2 separate regions of the Homo sapiens genome follow, and region 1 is linked to region 2. The links are contacts of gene promoters, found by promoter capture Hi-C in human tissues and cell types (Jung and others, 2019). All regions are on one chromosome and are shown on one strand. The core of a region is centred on a gene start or on the middle of the fragment in contact, and the rest is flanking DNA. Distances in the headings are between cores, read along the strand shown. Region 1 overlaps HNF4A (hepatocyte nuclear factor 4 alpha). Region 2 holds the start of JPH2 (junctophilin 2).

Region 1 (5,266 bases), core at 1,691-4,190, 200 kb after region 2:
TCCTATTTTATAGATGAAGCAAATAAGGCTTGAAGAGCTTATGATTTTAGCAAGGTCCAACAGCTATGTAAATGGCACCACTGATATTTCAAAGGCAATGGCCCTGACCACTCTGCTACACCACCTTTCTCTCCTCTTCTCCAATACCCAGCCCAAAACTCTTTTGGATCTTTGATTATTCTTCAAGGGGCATAGCTTTCTTTCTTTCTTTCTTTCTTTTTTTTTTTTGAGACGAACTCTCGCTCTGCTGCCGGGCTAGAGTGCGGTGGCGAGATCTCGGCTCACTGCACCCTCCGCCTCCCAGGTTCAAGCAATTCTCCTGCCTCAGCCTCCCAAGTAGCTGGGACTACAGGTGCGTACCACTACGCAAGGCTAATTTTTGTATTTTTAGTAGAGATGGAGTTTCACCATGTTGGCCAACATGATCTCGATCTCTTGACCTCGTGATCCGCCCGCCTTGGCCTCCCAAAGCGCCAGGATTACAGGCATGAGCCATGCCGCTGCACTCGGCCTAAGGGGCATAGCTTTCTCATCCTCTGCCATCCTAGGAAAATTTTAAGTATTCATATTAAAATGAAAACTAAACACAATTGTCCATATATGCTCCTTAGGAGTAGAATGCCAAGGACCTCTTAGCTCCTCTGACCTGGGAACTACATTCTCTCTAATGATACATACGACTGGGTTAGAGGTTTGGGCAGCTGCCACCAAGTAAAACCTCTAGAATTTTGCTATGTCACTTTCTGCTAAGGTAGCTTTTCCCATCTACACTAAATAAATAAATCATCCAGGTGATTTATTTTTAACCAATGCAGAGGATTTTTTACTTATCTCCATGGAGTTCAAACATTTCTCCAGGCTGGGTGGGGTGACTCACGTCTGTAATCCCAACACTTTGAAGACTAAGAAGGGGCAGATTGCTTGAACCCAAGAGTTCCAGACCAGCCTGGGCAACATGGTGAAATCCCATATCTACAAAATATAGAAAAATTAGCCAGGGGTGGTGGTCCACACATGTAGTCCCAGCTACTCTGGAGGCTGAGGTAGGAGGATCATCTGAGCCTGGAGACTTGGAGGCTGCAGTGAGCTGTGATGGCGCCACTGCACTCCAGCCTGAGTGACAGAGACCCTGTCTCAAAAAAAACAAACAATAATTCACCAAATCTATTTGGATCTGGATCCTGCCATCATTTTATAGGTAATGCCTCCATAGCACTCACTAAGTGCCAGGCACACTTCTAAGCCCTTTTTATACATTAACACAAATAATCCCCACCACGACCTAATGCCATACACATCATTATGGTCACTATTTTGCAAATAAGAAAACAGTCACAGAGCAGTTCAGTAACTTGTCCAGGGTCACACAGCTAGTCCATGACTGAACCAGAATTTAAGCCCAGGATGTCAAGTTCCAGAATTGGTACACTCAGCCTCAATACTGTGCTGCCTTCAAATATTCTGACAATCTTAGACAGCTTTGGGGATCCAAAAGATTGAGAAGTACTCTTGGGGACCTCTTTTTTTTTTTTTTTTTTAAATACGGAGTCTCAACTCTCTCCCCCAGGCTGGAGTGCAGTGGTACAATCTCAGCTCACTGCAACCTCCGCCTCCTGGGTTCAAGTGATTCTCCTGCCTCAGCCTCCCAAGAGGCTGGGATATTACAGGCACATGCCATCATGCCCAGCTAATTTTTGCATTTTAAGTAGAGACAGGATATCACCATGTTGGCTAGGGTGGTCTTGAACTCCTGACCTCAAGTGATCTGCCCACCTCAGCCCCCCAAACTGCTGGGATTACAGGCATGAGCCACCGCACCTGGCTCCCATTTTTTTTTTAAGACGGAGTTTCACTCTTGTTGCCCAGGCTGGAGTGCAATGGAGCGATCTCGGCTCACTGCAACCTCCGCCTCCCAGGTTCAAGCAATTCTCCTGTCTCAGCCTCCTGAGTAGCTGGGATTACAGGCACATGCCACCACACCCGGCTAATTTTTGTATTTTTAGTAGAGATGGGGTTTCCTCATATTGGTCAGGCTGGTCTCGAACTCCTGACCTCAGGTGATCTTCCCACCTCGGCCTCCCAAATTCCTGGGATTACAGGTGTGAGCCATCACGCCTGGCCCCTGGCTCCTTTTTTTTTTTTTTTTTTTTTTTTTTAAATAAAGACCAAAGGTCCAGAGGCTTTGAAAGGCAAATAGTATTAAGTCAGGATTTGATATCAGGATTTCTTTCATTCTGTTTATTTTCTCATTGCTTTCTACTTATGATACTGTTTCATTTGGTAGTAATAATATTTCTTTCTAAAATAAATTGAAGTAAAAAGAAGTGAGTTGATGTAAGAAAAATGTTACAGATATGAAAAAATCATAATGGTCATTAAAAAATTAGTGAAACTTTGGAAAGACTGTGTTCAGTCAAGTGAAGTGAAGTTAGCTTGCAACCACAAAAAAACCCCTAAGTCTCAATGGTTTGAACAGCAAAGTTAATTGCTCACCTATAGTACACGCCCAGCATGGGTCGGCAGGGGGCGCTCCGCGTTGTGGAACGATTCATATCTATACTTGCTTCCCCAACAAGGGCAGCACTGGCCTTTAAAGCTTCTGCCCAGGTGTGACACAGGTTGTTTCTGCTCACATCTCGTTACCTGAAACAAGTAACATGGTCACATCTCATTTCAAAGGAAGCAAGAAAATGTAATCCCCATCATGTGCCGGAAAGGAGAGAAATAGAATAGTTGAGAACAGCCCTCAGAGAGACTATAAGTAAGGGGGCATAAAAGATGGGTCTAGAGAGATAGGCTGAGTCATGACTCACTGAATTTGTCTGACGTAGATCATGATGGCCCATCCCACCAAGTGGCCAACATTTGTTCCCAGAAAAGGGAGTGTGATGATCCCCCAGAAAGAACACAGTCTGACAACATTATTCTGATGAGCAGACACACCTCTCAGGCTGCCACTCAGGAGTCCTTTTGGGTGGGGAGGTGGGGATGCTGATATTTCCTAAGTGGTTTCAGCTGAACTCTGTGATCTTTTTTTTTTTTTTTTTTTTTTTTTTTTGCCTATTCCCTGAAGGGAGATGAGGCAATTTGGGCTTTGGCTGAGCTAGGGTTTGGTTCTGTCACCACTTGCTATCTAGGGAAGGGTAATAATTGGAAAGGAGAGGAATTCAAGGAGAGGGTCCAGGTGGGTAGGGAGCCTCACACAGGGTTTGGTGATCAGGTGATTGAGAGGCCTCCTTGAGGAGTTTTCAAAGTGCGGTCTGAGGGCACCTGGTATCAGAAGTGCCCAGAAGCTCATTAAACACTTGGGCCAGGTGCTCCATGGCTCCTGCCTTTAATCCCAGCACTTTGGGAGGCTGATTTGCTTGAGGCTGGGGTTCAAGACAAGCCTGGACAACATAGCAAGACACCTCCCCCCGTCTCTATTTTTTAATTAATTAATTTGTTTGTTTATTAATTTATGGACTCTCACTCTGTCGCCCAGGCTGGAGTGTAGTGGCCTGATCTCTTCTCACTGCAACCTCCGCCTCCCAGGTTCAAGCAATTCTCCTGCCCCAGCCTCCCAAGTAGCTGAAATTACAGGCATGCACCACCACACCCAGCTAGTTTTTGTACTTTTAGTAGAGACAAGGTTTCACCATGTTGGCCAGGCTGGTCTTGAATTCTTAGTCTCCAGTGATCCACCTGCCTTGGCCTCCCAAAGTGTTGGGATTACAGGCATGAGCCACCATGCCCCACCTCTATTTATTAAATATTTTCTTTTTTTTAATCTGATGACTAGGCCCACTGTTGGTCCTGGCACCTGGAGGTAGGACCCCAGGCATCTGATTTTTTTTGTTGTTTTTTTTAAGGCAGGGTCTCGCTCTGGCGCCCAGGCTGGAGTGCAGTGGCACGATCTTCACTCACTGGAACCTCCACCTCCCAGGTTCAAGCGATTCTCCTGCTTCAGCCTCCCGAGTAGCTGGGATTACAGGCATGCACCATCACGCCTGGCTAATTTTTTTTTTAATAGAGACAGGGTTTCACCATGTTGGCCAGGCTGGTCTTGAACTCCTGAACTCAGGTGATCCACCCACCTCCCAAAGTGCTGGGATTACAGGCGTGAGCCACCGTGCCCAGCCACCATCTGATTTTTTTTTTTTTTTTTTTTTTTTTGAGACAGAGTTTTGCTCTTGTTAACCAGGCTGGAGTGCAATGGCACGATCCCGGCTCACCACAACCTCTGCCTCATGGGTTTAAGTGATTTTCCTGTCTCAGCCTCCCAAGTAGCTGGGATTACAGGCATGTGCTACCACGCTCGGCTAATTTTGTATTTTTAGTAGAGACGAGGTCTCACCATGTTTGGCAGGCTGGTCTCGAACTCCTGAACTCAAGTGGTCCACCTGCCTCAGCCTCCCGAAGTGCTGGGATTACAGGTGTAAGCCACCTCGCCCAGCTGCCATCTGAATTTTTAATAATGGCCCCAGATGATTCTTATGGACACCAAGATTTGAGAAGCATTGAATGACTGAGAGAAAATTTCTTGTAAGGGTAGAAGCCCAGCACAGTGGTTCTCAGTGGAGATAATTTCAACCCCCAAGGGACATTTATAAATGTCTGGAGATAGTTTTGATTATCACACCTTGAGGGTAGGGAAAAGTGCTGCTGACATCTAGTGGCTAGAGGCCAGACATGCTGCCAGGGACAATGTACAGGACAGTCCCCACGACAAAGAATTCTCTAGCCCAAATGTCATTAGTGCTTAGGTCAAGAAACCCTGGTTAGCCATTAAGAGTTTGAACCTTTCTAAATGTTGGAGCACATACGATTTTTAAATCTTCAATTTTTATTTTATTTTCCAAAATTTCTACTATATGCATAGAATCCTTTTCATTGAATACCTGTTACGCACCGAGCACTTGAAGTTTACATCACTATCAGTTCCTCTTGAAAGACCTTTTCAGTCATTCATCCAACAACTATCCATTAAACACTTACTAAAATGTATTCCAGGCCAGGTGTGGTGGCTCATGCCTGTAATCCCAGCACTCTGGGAGGCCGAGGTGGGTGGATCACCTGAGGTCAGGAGTTTGAGATCAGCCTGGCCAACATGGCGAAACCCCGTCTCTACTAAAAATTAAAAAATTAGCTGGGTGTGGATCCCAGCTACTCAGGAGGCTGAGGCAGGAGAATTGCTTGAACCTGGGAGGCGGAGGTTGCAGCAAGCCGAGATCGTGCCATTGCTCTCCAGCCTGAGTGACAAGAGCGAAACTTCATCTTAAAAAAA
Region 2 (5,335 bases), core at 2,488-4,987:
ACACGGTCTCGAGGGCAGGCCCTCACCCAGACACCCACCAACTGGCAGCTCAGATGCAAATCTATCCTGCATCTGAGGCTGCTCTCAACATGCCCAGGGGCCTCGGCTTCAGCAAACCTTGCTCCCTGGGCTAGCTGATGCCTTTTCCTGCCCCAGCTACCCTGATCCCAGCCCCAGTCCCACACTTCCTGGCCACTGTCAAAAAGAGGAGACACTAGTGACGAATATAATGTCCTATGAATGCCTTCTGATGCCAAATGTCATTTGTAAAAATTAGCCAGTTTTGAGTTATCTGTGTCAGTTCCTCTTTCCAATGCAGCTCATTAGGAAGACTCCATGGAATTATCCTGCGTCAGAAAGAGTTTGAGTGATGATTCAAAACTGCAGCCAGCAAACTTTCGCTGGAAAGAGTCAGGTAGGGCGGGGTGTGATGGTTCACACCTGTAATCCCAGCACTTTGGGAGTCCAAGGCAGGTGGATCACTTGAGGTCAGGAGTTCAAGACCAGCCTGGCCAACGTGGCAAAATCCCATTTCTACCAAAAAATTAAAAAAAAAAAAATTAGCCAGGTGAGGTGGTGGGTGCCTGTCCCAGCTACTTGGGAGGCTGATGTAGGAGAATCACTTGAACCTGGAAGGCAGAGCTTGCAGTGAGCTGAGATTGTGCCACTGCACTCCAGCCTGGGCGACAGAGTAAGACCCTGTCTCAAAAAACAAACAAACAAAAGAAGTCAGATAGTAAATACTTTGGGTTTTGCAGGACAAGAAGCAAAATTGAGGATGTTACGTAGGGGCTTTCAAATAATTTCACATGTCAAAAAGTGTTCTTCTTCTTCTTCTTCTTCTTCTTTTTTTCCATCATTCTCAGCTTATAAGCTGTGCAGAACTGACAGCAGGCTAGTTCGGCCCACGACCTATGGTTTGCTAGGCCCTAATTTAAAGCAACTTTTTAAACTTTGATGTTATAAAAATTGCCTGATACACTTGTGAAAGCAGTGTTTGGACACACACTCAGAGATTCTGATGAGAAGGTCTGGGTGGGCCACTGAATTTGCATTTCTAACTGGTGGATCAATGGTGCTGATGCTGCCCGTCCACCGTCCACATTTTGAGCAGTACTGATATTCTAAAGTGTCCCTTTTCACAGATGAGGAAACTGGCTTAGCTAAGTGATATGTCCATGTACACCCTGTGGACTAGGTAATGACATCTGCTCTGCCACTCCACAGGGCTGTTTTGCCACAGAAAACTCCTCTCTGATTCTTTAACCCACTGCTACCCTCATGCTTCTGAGCCTTTGTCTTCACTCTTCTCTCTGCCCCATGCCCACCCTCACAAACGTAACTGTCCTGTCGAGACCAAGCTCAGGCGTCAGCTCCATTTAAAGTATTTCCTGACCTCCTCAAATCTAAATTCTCCTTTCTGCAACAGTATCTGTACATACTTGTGTATAATGTGTATAACTGTTTGTCTGCATGCCTATCTTTGTTTTTCGATTTTTCGTTTTGTAAAAATGGGGATCTTGCTAGATTGCCCAGGCTGGTGTTGAACTCCTGGCCTCAAGTGATCCTCCCACCACAGCTTCCCAAAGTGCTGAGATTACAGGCGTGAGCCACGGAGTCCAAGAATTGCTTGAGCCCAGGAGTTTGAGACCAGCCTGGGCCACATAGTAAGACCCCATCTCTACAAAAAAAGAAAAAACAATTAATTAGCTAGGCTTGGTGGCATGTGCCTTGTAGTTCCAGCTACTCAGGAGGCCAAGATGGGAGGATTGCTTGAGCCCAGGAGTTCAAGGTTGCAGTGAGCTGTGATTGTGCCACCGCACTTCAGCCTGAGCAACAAAGCAAGACCTATCTTTAAAAAATTTAAAAAAGGAAACACAAAAGGAATGTAGGCCCGGCACAGTGTCCCACACCTGTAATCCCAGCAATTTGGGAGGCCGAGACAGGCAGATTGCTTGAGCTCCGAAGTTTGAGACCAGTCTGGGCAATATGGAAAAGCCCTGTCTCTACAAAAAAAAAAATAATAATACAAAAATTAGCCAGGCATGGTGGTGCACACCTGTAGTCCCAATTACTAGGGAAGCTGAGGTTGGTGGACCACTTGATCCTGGGAGATCAAGGCTGCAAAGAGCCGAGATCATGCCACAACACTCCAGCCTGGGCAACAGAACGAGAACTTGTCTTGGAAAAAAAAAAAAAGAATCCATGGATGGATCATAGATGGATGGATGGATGGATGGATGGATGGATGGATGGAAAGATGGATGGGTGGATGGGCAGGTAGATGTATGAATGGCTGGATGGGTAGATGAATGGTTGGGTGGAAGCATGAATGCGTGGGTGGGTAGATGGATGGATGGGCAGGCAGGTGGGTGGATGGATGAATGGATGGATGGACGGGTGGGTGGATTGGTGTGTGGATAGATGATGAGTGGATAGTTGGATGGGTGGATGGATGGATGGGTGGGTGGATGAATACTCCTCATGATCTATTGCTTGAAAATAATTTTCATGGCAAAGTTAAGACTAGACCCTAATTCTGCTAGAGTATATTCCATGGCTGTTTATGTTGGGGCATACCGAACATGCTAATGGTAGTAGTTATATTTTATTGTGTGTTGAGTGTGCACTTACATGGCAGGCTTTGTACTAAGCACTGCCACTAATCCTCTCAATAACCCCTTTATTAGCTCCATCTTTACTACAAGAAAATGGAAGCTCAGAAAGGTAGAGCAGCTTGCCCAAAACCACACAGCAAATCACTTCCTAGCCCATCTGATTCTGTGCCAATTGCCGGTCGCCTTTCCCACCCTCCACCAGGGTTTCTCACCCTCCCTGGCTCCACCCCACCTCTGCGGGCCCCCAGCTGGCCTCACCTCCATCAGCATAGGTCTCGGTGCCATAGCCGTCTTGCAGGCCATTGTTCCAGGTGCCCTCATACTTGGCACCGCTGCTTGAGCTCTGCCGGATTCCGTAGCGTCCCTTGAAGCCATGTGTCCACTCGCCCTTGTAGAGCCAGCGCCCCTTGGTCTCTATGCCCAGCCCATGCCGTTTGCCCTGGCTCCAGTATCCCTCAAAGGTGTTTCCGCTGGGCCAGGTGTAGACACCTGCCACCTCAAAGCCAAAGTTCCAGGAGCCAGAGTATTCGCCCTGGCCCTTGGGGCCTGTGCACAGTCCATGCCCATGGGCCTTTCCCCCCTCCCAGCCCCCGCAGTACGCCCCTCCATCATCAAAGTCGAAGCGGCCCCCACTCATCTCATCATAGCCCCTGACAACCTCCCCGTCCTCCAGCGTGGGTGCAGAGGGCGTGGGTGATGCCTGCAACACTCCTCCAGTGCCCTCGGGGGCAGGCCCCCAGACTCACCACTGCACCCCAGGAGGGGGGAAGCAGGATGCCAGCAGAGGCTGAAAGAGCCCCGGCGCCAAGTCAGCACCGGGTCGGCTAGTCAGTGCCATGCCCGGGAGCCCCGACTCCACCAGCCAGAGCAAGGCTGCCTGCTGGAAAGAAAGCAGGAAGGAAAGGTTCAAAGTCCCCACAAAGCGTCCCAAGTCTGCCTTCCAAGAAGTCCAAGGGAAAACGGTGTGATCTCTTTAAGAAGCCCAGTGAAAGGGTGGGGTGGAGGGGTCCCCAGCCTTTTCAAAGAGGGGAAATTCCCCTCGGTGGCAGCCCCCGCCGGAGGCTGAATTCCCGCAGCCCGCTGGCCCCCTTCTCCACCCCAGTGGGTGTGCGGGGCTGTCGGTCTCCCCGCCGCTGCCCCGCCCCCTTCTCCAATCCTGCCCTCCTTCTGGGACGGAAAGGTCAGTGTTGCCCTAACAAGGCCATTGGATCTCAGAAGCTGCTCCCAAAATAACCCCCAGCCAGCCCAGCCTTCTTCAAAGCGGGAAGGAGGGGTATTTCAAATCGCGCCCGTGCCGCAGACCCGGGCAGTGGCTGGAGGCATGAGGAAGGAGGCTGAGAACTGAGTGCAGGCAGCCCAGGGAACCTGGTGTCTTTTCCTCCCGGGAATGAGAGCTCCCTTCCATTCTCAGAGTCCCCTGGGTCTGCGCGCAGGGAGGGCACCGGGGAATCGGGGAAGGGAGGGGAGAGGGAGACCAGCAGAACACCCAGTCCTGGAACACTGAAAATCCCCCAGAGCGAGGAGGTTGGCAGATCTCAGCCCCATCACCACTCACATGCCCTAAGGGGACCTGGGGTTACAGCACCACTGCCAGCCCCATCAAGGAATCCAGTGACCTAAAGAGAAAGGAATGGAGACAGTTTCACATGTGCTTCCGAAAGCAGAGGAGGGAAGTCAGAAAGAGAGGGGAGGCTGTGGAAACAGGGTCTGGAAGATACACAGAATCTCAGTCCAGTGCTCACTCACCACCCTGAGCTCCCTCCACCCCTGGAAGCCGGGGAGAACTTGGTGCAAGAAGCAACCATCTATTCCCTTTCTCTTTCTCCTGAAGGGCAAAGAGAAGGGAGAGGAGCCTGCCCTCCTCTCTGCCTGAGACACAGACTGGGCGTCCCGCTAGCTTCCTCTCCCCACCCCTTGATGCCTCGGCGCCCTCCCTGCCCCCTGCCGCAGACCCAGCAGACCCTGAAGGTCAAAGGAGTCCCCTTCCTGTCAACACAGGGTTGTGTTGTAATGAGGTCCTCTCAGAAATTCTCAAGGGTCATGATTTTTTAAAATTTCCCTTTCTGAGCTGTCTTTTGCTCTAGTGTCCTAGGAGCCTGTGAGGCCAGACTTCAGAAAGCTCTTGGGGCAGGGCCAGGAGAGAAGGGCCTGGGTGGATTCCCAGCCACTCAGGTTCCCACCAAACTCCAGTAAAAAGAACAAATAAATCTCCATGGCAAGAAGCTGTGGCCAGAGCTAATGATTGTAAATCCCAGCTAAGCCCAAGGTTAATGGGAGTATAGAGGAATTCTGGGAAAGGTAAGAGCCACCAAGACTAGGAAGATCTGTGTGTGTGTGTGTCTGTGCGTGTGTGTGAACGTGTGTCTGTGAGAGTGTGAGAGAGTGTGTGTGAGTGTATGTGAGTGTGTGTGGTAAGAGTGTGTGTGTTTGTGTGTGTGTGGTAAGTGTGTGTTTGTGTGAGTGTGTGTGGTAAGAGTGTGTGTGTTTGTATGTGTGTGTGGTAAGAGTGTGTGTGTTTCCATGTGTGAGTGTGTGTGTGTGAGTGTGTGTGTGAAGATGGGGACAGAAGAGAAAGAGAGAACTAAGCACAGAAGGTACTAGAGAACATTAGACAATTATCTGACTTTGAACTTATCTGACATATTTCCAAACCCCATGATAACTTAGGCCACGTGAAGTCACTGCGGAAGTCTTGTTCCTGTTTGGGGAGTGGGTAA

The links. Contacts are between HindIII fragments. The study calls those that stand out against the background at their distance.
Region 1: a contact is called between a fragment that was not itself captured here and the fragment with the promoter of JPH2 in region 2, in 1 of the 25 tissues and cell types used here (neural progenitor cells).

The regions. Positions count from the first base shown.
Region 1 is chr20:44,382,030-44,387,295 of GRCh38, forward strand. All of the region lies in intron 1 of HNF4A (hepatocyte nuclear factor 4 alpha), which reads left to right. It overlaps HNF4A-AS1 (HNF4A antisense RNA 1), which reads right to left. Exons shown (of 3, transcript NR_172878.1): 2 at 2,494-2,643. Among named protein-coding and RNA genes, the nearest start is that of HNF4A-AS1, 11 kb to the right of the region's middle. The HindIII fragment of the contact is 4,459 bases long and covers 712-5,170 here.
Region 2 is chr20:44,183,451-44,188,785 of GRCh38, forward strand. It overlaps JPH2 (junctophilin 2), which reads right to left and starts at 3,738. Exons shown (of 6, transcript NM_020433.5): 1 at 2,877-3,738. The coding sequence starts at 3,255. The HindIII fragment of the contact is 16,539 bases long and covers 1-5,335 here.